Linked DNA regions of Homo sapiens: regions 1 and 3 are each linked to region 2. Evidence: promoter capture Hi-C in 16 types of primary human blood cells and fetal thymus (Javierre and others, 2016). All regions are on one chromosome and are shown on one strand. Each heading gives the region's core, a stretch centred on a gene start or on the middle of the fragment in contact. The rest is flanking DNA. Distances are from core to core; before and after follow the strand shown. Region 1 has its middle 39 kb from the start of LINC02031. Region 2 holds the start of USP13 (ubiquitin specific peptidase 13). Region 3 overlaps ATP11B (ATPase phospholipid transporting 11B (putative)).

The links. Contacts are between HindIII fragments. The CHiCAGO score rates a contact against its expected background, and 5 or more counts as called.
Region 1: a fragment that was not itself captured here is called in contact with the fragment with the promoter of USP13 in region 2 in 8 of 17 cell types (total B cells, naive CD4 T cells, naive CD8 T cells and 5 more); the score reaches 11.9 in total B cells.
Region 3: a fragment that was not itself captured here is called in contact with the fragment with the promoter of USP13 in region 2 in 1 of 17 cell types (M1 macrophages); the score reaches 5.9 in M1 macrophages.

The regions. Positions count from the first base shown.
Region 1 is chr3:182,680,855-182,685,226 of GRCh38, reverse strand. No RefSeq gene overlaps it. Among named protein-coding and RNA genes, the nearest start is that of LINC02031, 39 kb to the right of the region's middle. RefSeq lists enhancers at 1,522-1,571, 2,696-2,745 and silencers at 2,416-2,485, 2,896-2,965. The HindIII fragment of the contact is 1,092 bases long and covers 1,257-2,348 here.
Region 2 is chr3:179,651,204-179,655,471 of GRCh38, reverse strand. It overlaps USP13 (ubiquitin specific peptidase 13), which reads right to left and starts at 2,432. Exons shown (of 21, transcript NM_003940.3): 1 at 2,079-2,432. The coding sequence starts at 2,246. RefSeq lists an enhancer at 1,959-2,602 and silencers at 2,271-2,610, 2,621-2,700. The HindIII fragment of the contact is 8,280 bases long and covers 1-2,893 here.
Region 3 is chr3:182,805,344-182,809,576 of GRCh38, reverse strand. All of the region lies in intron 1 of ATP11B (ATPase phospholipid transporting 11B (putative)), which reads right to left. Among named protein-coding and RNA genes, the nearest start is that of ATP11B, 14 kb to the right of the region's middle. The HindIII fragment of the contact is 1,053 bases long and covers 1,504-2,556 here.

The DNA of each region.
Region 1 (4,372 bases), core at 553-3,052, 3.0 Mb before region 2:
TGAGTCTCAGTTACTTCCCTAGACGATGAAGAGTCAAGACCATGGATTCTCTCAGGTGCACTGAGTTTGGTGTGCTGTGTGAAGCCTGGTGTGTGTGTTGGGATTCACCACAGCCTCTTTTTATTGGCATACTAAACGTTTATACTGTGGCAAATGGGAGGACAAGTTCCTCCACCATGGACCTAAACAGACTCAAAATAAATAAAGCTTTGCTTCTTAAATACTGTCTTATCTGTAGATTATTTTCTCTTTGATAAAAATATATTTTTTTCAAATGACAGCCATTTTCATGTGTCGTTCCTTCTTAGAGAACATTGAGTTACCTCCTTCGAGCAGCCATGATGTTGGTGGCTTCATCCATCCCCCTTTTGGCAATATCCTGGACAATAAAGCAGAAAAATGGAAGGAAATTAATACTATGGTGACACTGTGGGGGGTCTCTATATCAACCCTTGCTTGAAGCTTGAGCTGAATTTTCAGTTATATGAGTCAATGTACTCATGTATTGTATAAGACAGATTTTGGGTTTTAGTCGCAGTTAAAAGCATCCTAATGAAAATATCTCTTGTTAAAGTATAACTTGAACATATGACTCAGGTGAAGATTTATCACCTCTGAGGGAAACCAAATTTAGGTTTCACTCCAGGTTGGAGTGCCGTGGTGCAACCTTGGCTCACTGCAACCTTGAACTCTTGGGCTCAAGTGATCCTCCCTCCTCAACCTCCCAAGTAGCTAGGACTACAAGCACCCGCCACCATGACCAGTTAATTTTTAAATGTTTTGAGAGATGGGCATCTGGCTACGTTGCCCAGGTTGGTCTCAAACTCCTGACCTCAGGTGATCCTCCTGCCTCAGGCTCCCAAAGTGCTGAGATTACAGGTGTGAGTCACCTTGCCTTGCCTGAATACACTGTTTTGACTTTTGAGATTAAAACGGAAGTAAATGAAATAAACTCACGACAATGAGCCAATGGCCAGCACTGTTATAGATCAATAACACAGGTTTCAACTCTTTGGAGGGAGAGTAACTAACTTACTTTCTGCACCTAACTTTCTGTATCACATCATTCTTTTCTTCCTGAGCTCAAACTCTGTCTCAGTAGCTTTCTGTAGCAGCCCCTGCGGGCACATAAGATAACATCTATCTGTGCTCCTTATCAAGCCATTCTGTCTAGTCCTAAATGTCAGAATAGGTACTAACACAGCTTTGGGCTTTGCAAGAAAATGTTCTCATCTTTTATCATCAGTTGGAAAGCTTTGGGGGCAGGAGAGACAAGAAGATTCATTCATTATTTTCAACACATATTTAAGTTTCTATATAAAACAAGGAGTGAGGTTCAATCCACAAAAGTTAATGGAAAAGTAACATCGAATTTCATGGTTGGCAGAGGTAAAGAACCACAGTTCCTAAGACACCGGCAAGTCAATTTAGGAAAGAAAAATTGCAGTGCCCACCTTCTTCCACAGAGGGGCACTCCAAGCTCATCACTGAAACCGTGCACTGTGTTGTTTTCAGTGAGCGGTTGTAGAAAAAGAACTTCCAATCTTTTCTCCATGCCTAGGGATTATTAAGAGCGTAGAATTTAAAGTACATTTGCAGGGCTCGATGTGAATGAGGCAAAACCATTTCAGTATCAATCCCAGTGGTGCCAGCAACCCATTCTAAATTAACTCAGGTTTAAATATGTTACAGAAATGTGTTAAATTTGAGAACAAATTTCACTTAGGATCTGTGGGTCTCTGTTACACAAAAGATGGAATACTTTGGAGGCAATGCAGTTCTTATTTAAAGCTAAAATATGGCTTATCATAAAACTATAGTCAGCCCGCTTCAAACACTCATGTCTTCACCAGAATGGGCAATATAGAATGAAAATTACACCTTGAGTAAACAGAATTGTAGATAAATGAGTTATGTCTCAAGACGTTTTGAATATTTTTATTATTGTGTCTGGGCCAAAAGTCTTTCCATATGTCCAAAGGCCCCGTGGCATTTCCAAATCAGCCGTGGGTGACGGTGGGACCGCGGGGCTCGTATGATGCCAACGCAAGCGTACCGGGTGGTCCTCATAGTTTGTTACATTCCAAAATGCAACCATTAAAGGGGCGGCCCTTACCTTCCCTAGTGAATACAAAAAGCCTTTGGAGACCAAAGGGCTGGAATGCTGGGGCAAACGCCACCCCACGTGCTGACCCCTTGGCCAGAGCCGAGGCGGGCGGCCTGGAGTCCCCAGCGCGGAGCCCCCAGGTTCCCAGGAGCTCGGGTCGCTCTCCGCTCTCCGCCCCTCGCCCGGGCCCACGGAAAGGGCTAAATGGCTTGCGACCAAACAGCGAATTTAAAAGGAAGCTTTCACGAAAAGCCCAAGGGAGCGGCAGCCCAGATTGTGTGGAGGGCAGAGCCGCGGGTTCCGAGGGTCCCCGGGGCGAAGCGGGCAGGGGCGCACCTCCGGGCCGCGGGCAGATGGAACCCGGGCTCCCGGGCCGGCGCGCGGGGGGCGGCCGCCTAGACATCCTCTCATTCGGCTGAAGTTTATTCTGGGCCACCGAGAGCTGGAACAGGAAATGTTCCGTCTTTCATGTCCACCGGTGGGCTTCAGACAGTTTTGCACCTCCCGGCGAGCACTGATTAGCCGGCTGAGTTCTGCCGCATTTGAAGTTCACCATTTATTATTAAAGAGAAGTGGCAGTGATTAGTGCTGGGTCCTCGGGGAGTGGAATAAATATTTACTAAATAAGAACGTTCCGCCATAAAGGAACGGCTCGAACAGGTTTCTGAAACCCCGGCGCGGGCCCCAAGTGCCGCCCCCAGGCAGGAAGCGGCGTTGCGGGGCTTTCCGCGAGAGGCTGCCATCTGCAGACCGTGCTGGGCGGCGACCTCCGCGGGGCAGGGCTCGGCCCGGCGCAGCCAGGGCCCGACGAAACTCGGCACTCTGGGCGTTTAAGTTATTTTATAGGCTGTGTTTGTTTTATAAAGGCAGAGGTGAATGTCAAACTAAACTTCGAACCTTTCTTTAATTTAAGGAACAAAGTAACATTTTATCGCTCAAGTAAGGGGACTGTGTTGCTTCCAACGTTAGGAGCATTTTCCAGTATGCTCCAAAGTGTACCCAAATTGTGAGCATCCAAGAAAGCATATTTATGTATATTTCAAAACATTATGTCATACAATGTAAATTATACAGTTTTTATTTGTCAACTGAAGAATAATAGTAAAAAAAAAAGTTTATTTAGTTTATTTGGCAATTAACTTACACGATGGCATCCCTGTCAAAAGCATTCATGTTGGTTGTTTAAAAAGCGTTTTCCTTAATTATTAGAATAATACTTTTACTGTAGAAAATATGAAATTTGCATATATCTAAACATCAGTATCACATGCTTTTTTCCATCATATTTTGCAGTGGGAATTGTCCAATGACATTACATATTTTTAGGGACAAATTTAGTGTCTATATCCATTTATTTAACTTACAGTGAATTAATAAACATTAAGGTAGTTTCAAGTTTTCCTTATTATAATAGCTCAATTAATATTTTTGTATGCAATTCTACACTTGTCTGATTATTCCCTGGCACCATTTTATTTTGAATTTCTTTTATTGTAAGTTGGGTTTAATATTATATTGCGAATAATTACAGAGAAGGGCCAGTTTTTGCTCATCACCATGTACCTGGTGTCTTGTATTATGCTGAGCACATACCAAATGCCCAATAGATATTGATTGAATGAATAAAAGAATAAAAAGTTAGTAGAACATTTGAATTTCTTGTTTTGTGAATTGCTTAATATTATTCATTTATTATGATAAGTTATCTTTTTCTTATGAATTTATAAGCTGTGTTTTAGGTAATAAGGATTTAACCTTCGGTTTGTCGCACATATGGCAAACCTCCCTCCCGTCTACAAAGCATAAGTTTGTGTGTATGTGTGTGTGTTTGGGTACTTTTTGACTTCTAGAAGTTAAAAAAAATTTCATAAGGTTATATTTGGATGATACTCTTTATCACACATGCAAGTTAAATGGCTATAGACAATACTCTACAATCTGTTTTGTGGTATTTTTACATATTTTGGACAGCACATTTTCATTCTTCTATTTATCAAGTTTTTCCCTGGACTTGGAATTTTTTTCAGGATATAACACATGGAGTAAAAAGGTAGTACAATCTTAGTCTTAGTCTGACAAGCACAGGATCTTGAGCCTGGTATCATACCAAAGAAAGATCTGTCAATTTCCCAAACAACCTTTAATTTACCTTTTTCTGATTCACTATTATGAAAGATATGAATAGAAAAAAGATCCCGGTTTTTAAGGGGTTTTCTGTATGTATCTCCTTCCAACTGAATGTGTAATTCCCTTTTATATCTCACC
Region 2 (4,268 bases), core at 1,183-3,682:
AAATATACTGATTCATCAGCCTTGTAAATAATCCCAGTCTCCCCTAAGGAACTGCTGTGATATGATTGCAATCATCAGTCTACACTGGACGAGATGTTTCTAGAATAGTAACATTCTAGAAACACACACAGTAAGCTCCCAATAACTATTTGTGGAAATGAATTAAAACAATCAGCCTTTTTTCCCACACCTGTTATCCACTGCATTATGCAGCAAAAACTTCCAAGAGCAAAGTTTGTAAGCAGAACTTGAAGAAGAGCCCAAATCAAAACATGGGGAAAGTCATTTGACCCACTTTCCATGTTGTGCTATCCTAAAAAACTTAGGCCACTTTCTTCTTCCTGGAGGTAACAATCTGTCAATTGCTTAAGTTAGGACCATCATCCCTCTCCACCTTTAGAAGCTATTAGTGGGAACTGCCCAACACTGGCCATACAATCTGAAAATGGCATTTTCAAATAATTTATGGATAACATCCTAAAAAAGGACTGCCGATTGTCACACTCCACTCTGTGGATCTTTTCGAAAGAAAAAAAAAGTAAACAATCAAAAATTAAGTTAGGTTTCATCCCTCAAATGATATGGAGTTACCATAAATAAAAAAACTAAATGTCACAGAGAGGATACTAACTCTGATACTCCAGTGTGTGTCGAGCAAAAGTGCTTTGAAGCCAGCCAAAATCAACCCACAGATAATAAAGGAAACTTTGGAAATGTTGCCGCTCATTTGGACTTTTCTTTTCCCCTCTGACAATAGTCCACATGCTATGAATAAAATACATTAGACCATTGCGAGACCTGCCTCGGTCCATCCAATCCATGCGCCTCCCAATGCATTGAGATCTGCCGGGTGACATATGAGATCTAAAGTGGGTGGATAAAAATAACCTGGTCCTCAAAAAGACATGATAAACGCCAGACAGCTGAGTCACTTTGAAGCCCATTTTGACTTTTGAAAGGGACATTCACCCTCCTGCTGCTTCTCACACATTCACATAGAACCAGGTGAAAACCACCACCAACCGCCCCGGGTGGAAGGCGGCGATCCCTCTCAGCTTCCTCCTCATTCTCCGAGGTCACGACTCGGGATTGAACTTTTAATAATTTATACTTGCGCATGTCAGTCCAAGTGACTCATTTAGAAGGGCAAGGTGGGGAAGGCTTAAGAAAACCATCGCAATCCAGTAGATCCCCTATTTCTGCTGCCCGAGTGGAGGCACCGGAAGGTTTCGTCTGACATTTTTTTTTTTTTTTTTTTGAGACGGAGTCTCGCTCTGTCGCCCAGGCTGGAGGGCAGTGGCGCGATCTCGGCCCACTACAGCCTCCTCCTTCCCGGTTCAAGCGATTCTCAAGCCTCAGCCTCCCGAGTAGCTGGGACTACAGGCTCCCGCCACCGCGCCCGGCTAATTTTGGGGTTCTTTTTTAGTAGAGATGGGGTTTCGCCATATTAGCCAGGCTGGTCTCGAACTCCTGACCTCAAACGATCCGCCCGCCTCCGCCTCTTAAAAAGTGCTAGGATTTCAGACGTGAGCCACCGCGCCTGGCCCTGACATTCTAAAGACAAGAAAAGGAGTGGGGTGAAATGGGAACTGGTGGAAGAAAAGCTCAGAGAGCAAATCAGAATTGTCCAGAAGTGGGGATCCCTGAGCAAAGCAAGTGGTCCCAGAAAAAGAAGGGCTGTGTGTGTCCCGGGGTGTGGGGGGATCATCCCGTCCACCTACCCGCCCTGCGCTCTGCCCCGCGGAGGACGCAAACGATCTGCAACGTGCAGTTCGGAACAGGGAACTCTTGTATTTCATCTATCTTTAAACGGCGGCGGGGCTGTGTGCAAGCTGCTGGGAATCGGGCCCTTCCAGCCTGGGGAGGCTGGCGGAGCAAAACCACCAGCACGAGCCAGTCCTCGGCTGCAGCAGCCCTGGGGCGCTCACTAAGTGTCTGCCGAACTGCAGTGTTCCTGAGCCAACTCTGCCGCCCGGAGGAAGAGAAGAGGTCCCGGCCGCCACTGCGCATCTTCTCCCCCGGCTTCACGTGCCGCAGGCCGCCGGCCCCGCGACCCTCCCCCGAGGCGCCTCACTTACGGGAGAGTCGTAGGAGAAGGCGCACTCGTTCTTGTAGACCCTGTCGCCGGACCTGGGCACGCGGATCGTGGGCATGTGGGGCACTAGCAGCTCGCCGATGTCTCCTGCAGCCATCTTCCTGCCTCCGCTGCCGCCCGGCATGCCGAACAGGGCGCCCCGGCGCTGCATGGCCTCGGCGCGCACCGGAGCCGAGCGAGCCGAGCCGGAGCCGGAGCGCGGGGTCTGCCGGCGGCGGCGGCGCCAGCGAGCGGGCTGACGGGCGGGCTGCGCGGGCAACGGCAGCCGGCCGAGCCGGGGCGGGCGGGGAGAGCGGGCTGCGGGGCGGGAGCGGGCACCGCGGGCTTGGGGCGGACTGGCGACGCTATTTTTAATCCAATGGCGAGTCTCCGGCCCAGCTGCAGCGTCAGGCGGGGCTGGGGAGCGCCAGCCGCAGCGTGCCGGGGAGGGGGCGCTGGAGAGGGGCCCTGCGCGTGGGCCGGGCGCGGCGGCGGGGGGCGGAGGGCGAACCCCTGAGGCGTTGGCGCGGGAGCTCGAGCGGGCTGGCGGCCGAACGCGGCGCGGGAGGGCCCCGGGAAAACACCACGGAGGTGTTTTCTATCCCGAATTGTTGGCTTGCAGAGGGGCAACTCCGAGGAGGCCAACACAAAGAGCAGGATTGGGGGTTTTAAAAACCGCTTGCTTTTAAAACAGCCGAAGACTAGGGCGGTGACGTCCCCGGATTGGATAGGGGCGGGACTCGATGTGCAAATCTGAAATCTAACGTGAGGCTTAAATCTAAATTTGCGCCATGCACTTCAGTGCTTCCCCACTAAGCTTCGTTCCTTACTTTAACATCCAAGGCTCAAAAATAGAGCGAATAGAATAAGATCGAGTGAGGATAGAGGGTGTGTGTGTGGGGGAGGGCGGGGTGTGTGTGGGAGTGTGTGTGTAATAATAATACAGGTTTTCTTACATATTGGGGGAAGTCAGGGATGGTCAAGATTTTTTCAGGGCGTCGGAAGGCTTTCTATTTTTCTCTGCCTTTGGAGTATCTTCTATGTGATTCAAAGTTCTCATGTCGAACATTCAGTGGCCTGATTTGAGGATTTTGTAGGCAGGCATACATATTCCTGTCTTGATCATCAGTTCCTCAAAATAAATGATGAATGGGGTTGGCCTCGGGGGTTGATCATTTGCAAGCAGAGCATGTCTCCCAGCATACTCTCATTCTCTCCAAAAAACCCACAAGACGGGTTCAATGACATTGAGGTTCTCTAACTACACCCAACATATGTATTCATGACAGAGTATCCAGTGATCCCTGCCAGTTAATGAAATGCAGAAATAGCGAGAAATAGTGAACCAAAACGCTAATTTTTGTAAGCCTCTCTCAGATCAGATAGTCCTTAAGTTCTTTTTTTTTTCTTACTTTTTTTCTCTTTTAACTCTCCCTGGTTCTCCAGACCTATCTCAAGATTTCCATACCCTCAAGCAAGCCTCGAGCGCACCACACTTTCTTATAACTCAGCACTCCCAAATGCTATCTGTTGGAAAAGGAGGAGGTGGCACTGAGCAAAAAATCAGACACTACTGTCATCTTCCTCATTGGGCAGATCCTCTCAGCGAGCTTTTGCTTTGAATTTAGTCTCATCAGCTTATTACCTTTCACGTTAATGGATGATGTTTTCTCCAATTACAGAGATAAACTTGGTTTTACAAAACTTAAAATTTAATCTTAGATTAAATACAAATTAAATCAGTGAGACACTGTTTTTCATCCTTTGGGCTGGTAAAGATATATTGAGTTAGCATGGGTTTGGGAAGTAGACCCTCATTACATTGTTGGTGGGGATAAAAACGATAAACCTCTTTGGAAGGAAATGTAATAATACCAGTCATAACTTTATATGTGCATACTGTTTTCCCCAGCATTTCCTTGTCTAGACATTTATGCAACAGATAAATTAAGGCTGTGTAAAGATATTTGTTAGAGCACTGTTTCGAGTAACAAACGTCTGGGGAAAACCTAAAGATCCTTCTGTAGAAAGTGGTTAAAATACAGTACCATTGAAAAGAATGAAGTTGCTCTACGTGTGCTGATGTGGAACAATCTCCAAATTATTACTAGATGATAAAAGCAATTTAAGCAAACTAGTGTATAAAAGCAAGGAATACATGCAAGGCTGATAATATGCAGTAGGCATTTTGGCA
Region 3 (4,233 bases), core at 781-3,280, 3.2 Mb before region 2:
ACAGGATTGCTTATTAGTGTACAGAGCGGGCAGGGCGTGGTGGCTCACACCTGTAATCCCAGCACTTTGGGAAGCCAGGGCAGGCAGATCGCTTGAGGCCAGGAGTTCAAGAACGGCCCGGCCAACATGGCACAACCCTGTCTCTACTAAAAATACAAAAATTAGCCAGGCGTGGTGGAGCATGCCTGTAGTCCCAGCTACTTGGGAGGCTGAGGCAGGAGAATCGCTTGAACCCAGGAGGCGGAGGTTGCAGTAGGCGGAGATGGCACCATTGCACTCCAGCCTGGGCGACAGACCAAAAGTCTGTCTCAATAAAATAAAATAATTAAAATTAAATAAAAGAAATAAAATAGAATATAAATAAAATGTAATTAGGAAACTTAGTCTTTAATTGTTAATGGTTATCACACTAACTTCTAATAACCAAAGGCATTGGTTCTCAGAGTTTTGGACTTCTATTTTTTTAATCTCCTATAGGAGGGAACAGTTTTGGATTTCACAGATCGGTAAAACTTTTTTAAATTAGGAAACTGGCATAGGGTTGCCAACTTTTTATTTTTCTAACCAAGAATATTAATAAAAAAGAAAGCAAGGGAAACAATCTAAGACTTTAAATTAAAGTCTGAGAAACTAAACCAGAAAAAGAACATTAGGGAAAAACTAATAAAATTCAAATAAAGTATGCAGTTAAATAACAACACATCAATATTGGTGTAACAAACGCTGCACAGTAATGTAAAATGTTAACAATAAGAGAAACTGGGTGGGAGAGAAGGGTACAGGAATCCTCTCCACTATATTTGCAACTTTTTTGTTAATCAAAAACCATTCTAAAATAAAGTTTATGTTTAAAATGTTAAAAAAATTACTCAAAAACAAGGACATCTATAAATTTATGCAAACACACAGATTACACTGACCTCATTTTTCTCATTTTGCCATAGACCACTGAGAGCTTTATCTCAATCTACATGAAACATCATCATTATGGAACCCATGGCCTGGGAGACTACCAACTAAAAAAAACTGTTAAAAGCATTCTTTACAAATTTTGACTTTCCCTTTCTCATAATACATTCCTAAGATACTTCAGCTTTTCCCTCTTTAAAAAAAAAATACTACAAATATATGCTGGAAAAAAAATGTTGATCAACATTGGCAGGTTAGCACTGCATCAATTCCCTTTAACTTTGCATAAAGATTTGGATCCACAAGGTATGAGGGTCTCCTGCATATCTAAGTTAGAAACCAATTCCTTTACAACACTGGAACTTCAACAGGAAAACACAAGATTAGAGAACTACTTTACAGTCTCTCCATAGTAAACAATCAGGTTCACTCTCACTGTTTCTGAACTTATCGTACCTTAAAGAGCATAGTGGAGAGCTAAAATAAGCAAGAGTATCTACATTCCCCTTGTAGTTCAGGAGATGAAAAAGTGAAGAAACAACGTTCTAGGTAACATATGATTAAGACTTGGACTTACTATATTGTGCTCAAGCTTTATCCGCCAATTACACTCATTGCAAAAGACTCTTCAAAGCAAAATCTTACAATACCTATGTGTATCACTTATAAAGAAAAACGTGTTTGCTACTCAGTTAAGTTAAAATGTTTGATCATTCTGAAATATCAAGCCACTTAGTATTTGATCTTATAATTCAATTTATAAGTATCATGAGCAAGGTAATATGCTTAGAACTATGGAAATACCAAAATGAGAAAACCACGCCCCTCCCCTGAATAAAACTTCATTTTTAAAAAAAGCCTTTTTAATAAGCACAAAAAGTAAAATATGTAGAATAAGTACAATTTTGACTAAAATAGCATTAAATCATAGATGACTCACTTATTTTCCTACAGAATATTATAAAATATAACCTTAATAGATTTAAAAGTATGACATAATTTCCTTATGGATATGATAAAAGCTATTATTAAAAATGGGCACCACCTTATCTCTTTGCTGCAATTCTAATTTCTATTTCAAGGTCACAAATTTCTCAAATGTCAAAATAATTTTTGAGCTCCCAAGGAATTTAAAACTTTTGAAAACTCTAAAAAATAATTTGCCACGCTGTTTAAAATCAATGTACACATTGCCATTTACACTATATAACATGTGTAAGAGGAGATACACATTAAGATATAAGCCAGGCCTAACTAATAAAATATATTTCACCTTGAGAATGGCCATGGCTGGACTAGAAACTCTTGATCATTTTTTTTTCTTTTTCCTCTACAAACTTGTCACCACCATCTCCAGAATACCACTGCTAGACTTTCCTTCCCCTAATGCATTCTGTAGTCTTATCACACTTTCAGGCAGATTTAAGAGATAACGGTGGAAGCTACTGTTATTTCATTCTCCCTACTATGGCTAATTCTATTCCACACTACTAAACTCCCTGGAAAAACTCTCTAGGTTCAAGTCCTGGCTGTGACACTAATTGGCTATTGGCTTTGGGAAGGTCTACATTTTGAACTGTTCCCTTTACTTCACAAAAGCAAAGACAGATAGTCTTTTTTTTTTTTAAATTAATACTTAGCCAAGCTTAACATAAGATAATCATTTCTGTAATCAGGAGCTGAGCCTCTGGGACTCTCAGTGTGGAAATAAGCAGTTTGAAGTTCAACTCCTATAGGATAAGAATAGCCGGATAAGAATCAGCAGTACCCCCTCTGCACCATGGTTCTAGAGTCAGGTTCAATTAGTAGTATTGTGCTTGGGTCCAGGCTTGCTCCCACCTTTGAAAGAAGCCTGGAAAAAGCTGGGTACCTTTAAAATAAGTATGTTTAAGATCTCCAAAGGAATAATGGAATAATATTTTTAATGAAAAATTATGAAACAAATCAGGCACATATGCAGAAAGAGCAGACAGAAATGAACAAGGTCCAATAATAAATAAATGCTGAAAATGAGAAATTGTCATTTAAGTAAAAATTCAGAAGACAGGATAAACTACAGTGAAAACAAGAGAATTGGTGGACTAGAAGCTAGAAATAAAAAATTTCTGCTGAAAACAGCACAGATAGAAAATGAGATGAGAATAAGAAAAGAGCCATAGAGAACAAATTAAGAGGCTTCAACATATGTCAAGCAAGAGTTCTAGAATGAGAAAACTAAAGGCTGAGAAATAATATTTTAAAGAAAAAATGGCTAAAAATTTTTCTGAATTGTATAGTCTTCAGATTGAAAGCACACGCAAATGCAGAGCAGGAAAAACAATATGAAAAAACATGATGGATACATCACAGTAAAATTACAAAATATCAAGGACAAAGATAATCTTAAAAATAATGTGAAAGATATTACCAACAAAGTAATGACAATTAGATTAAAAGCATATTTCATAACAGCAATAATAAATGTCAGAAAGTAATGGAATAAGTAGTATCTCCAATACGTAGAGCTAAAGTAACCATTAATCTAGAATTCTGTATCTAGCTAAATTCCCATTCAATAGTGACTATGAAATAAAAACATTACCACTCATGAACTCTTGCTTAAAAACAACTAAAGAAGTTATTCAGCAAGAATAAAATTAAATCCAGAAGAAAGAGGTGGTATGCAAGAAACAATAATGAGTAAAAGATATCACTAAATCCTTGTGCTAAATAAAAATTACCATATTAATTAAAAACTAATGCTAAAAAACATTGAGTTTAAAAAGAAGTAGGACTACAACCCACATTATGGGAGAAAATATTTGCAAATCACATCTCATAAAGGTCTTATATCTAGAATATATAAAGAAGTCTTACAACTCAAGAATTTTTTTTAAAACACAAGAAATAACCCAATTAAAAACAAGCGGCCCAGTGCGGTGGCTCACGCCTGTAATCCCAGCACTTTGGGAAGCCAAGGCAGACAGATCACCTGAGGTTAGGAGTTCGAGACCAGTCTGACCAACATGGAGAAACCCCATCATTACTAAAAAAAAAAAAAAAGAAATTAGCTGGGCCTGGTAGCACGCGCCTATAATACCAGCTACTTGGGAGGCTGAGGCAGGAGAATCACTTCAATCTGGGAGGCGGAGGTTGCCATGATCTGAGATCGTGCCATTGCATTCCAGCCTGGGCAACAAGAGTGAAACTCCGTCTCAAAAGAAAAAAAAAAAAGCAAAAATATCTGAATAGGCATTTCTCCAAAAATGATACACAAATGGCCAACAGGTACATAAAAAAAATTGGATATCATTAGTCATTAGGGAAGCACAAACCAAAATCGCA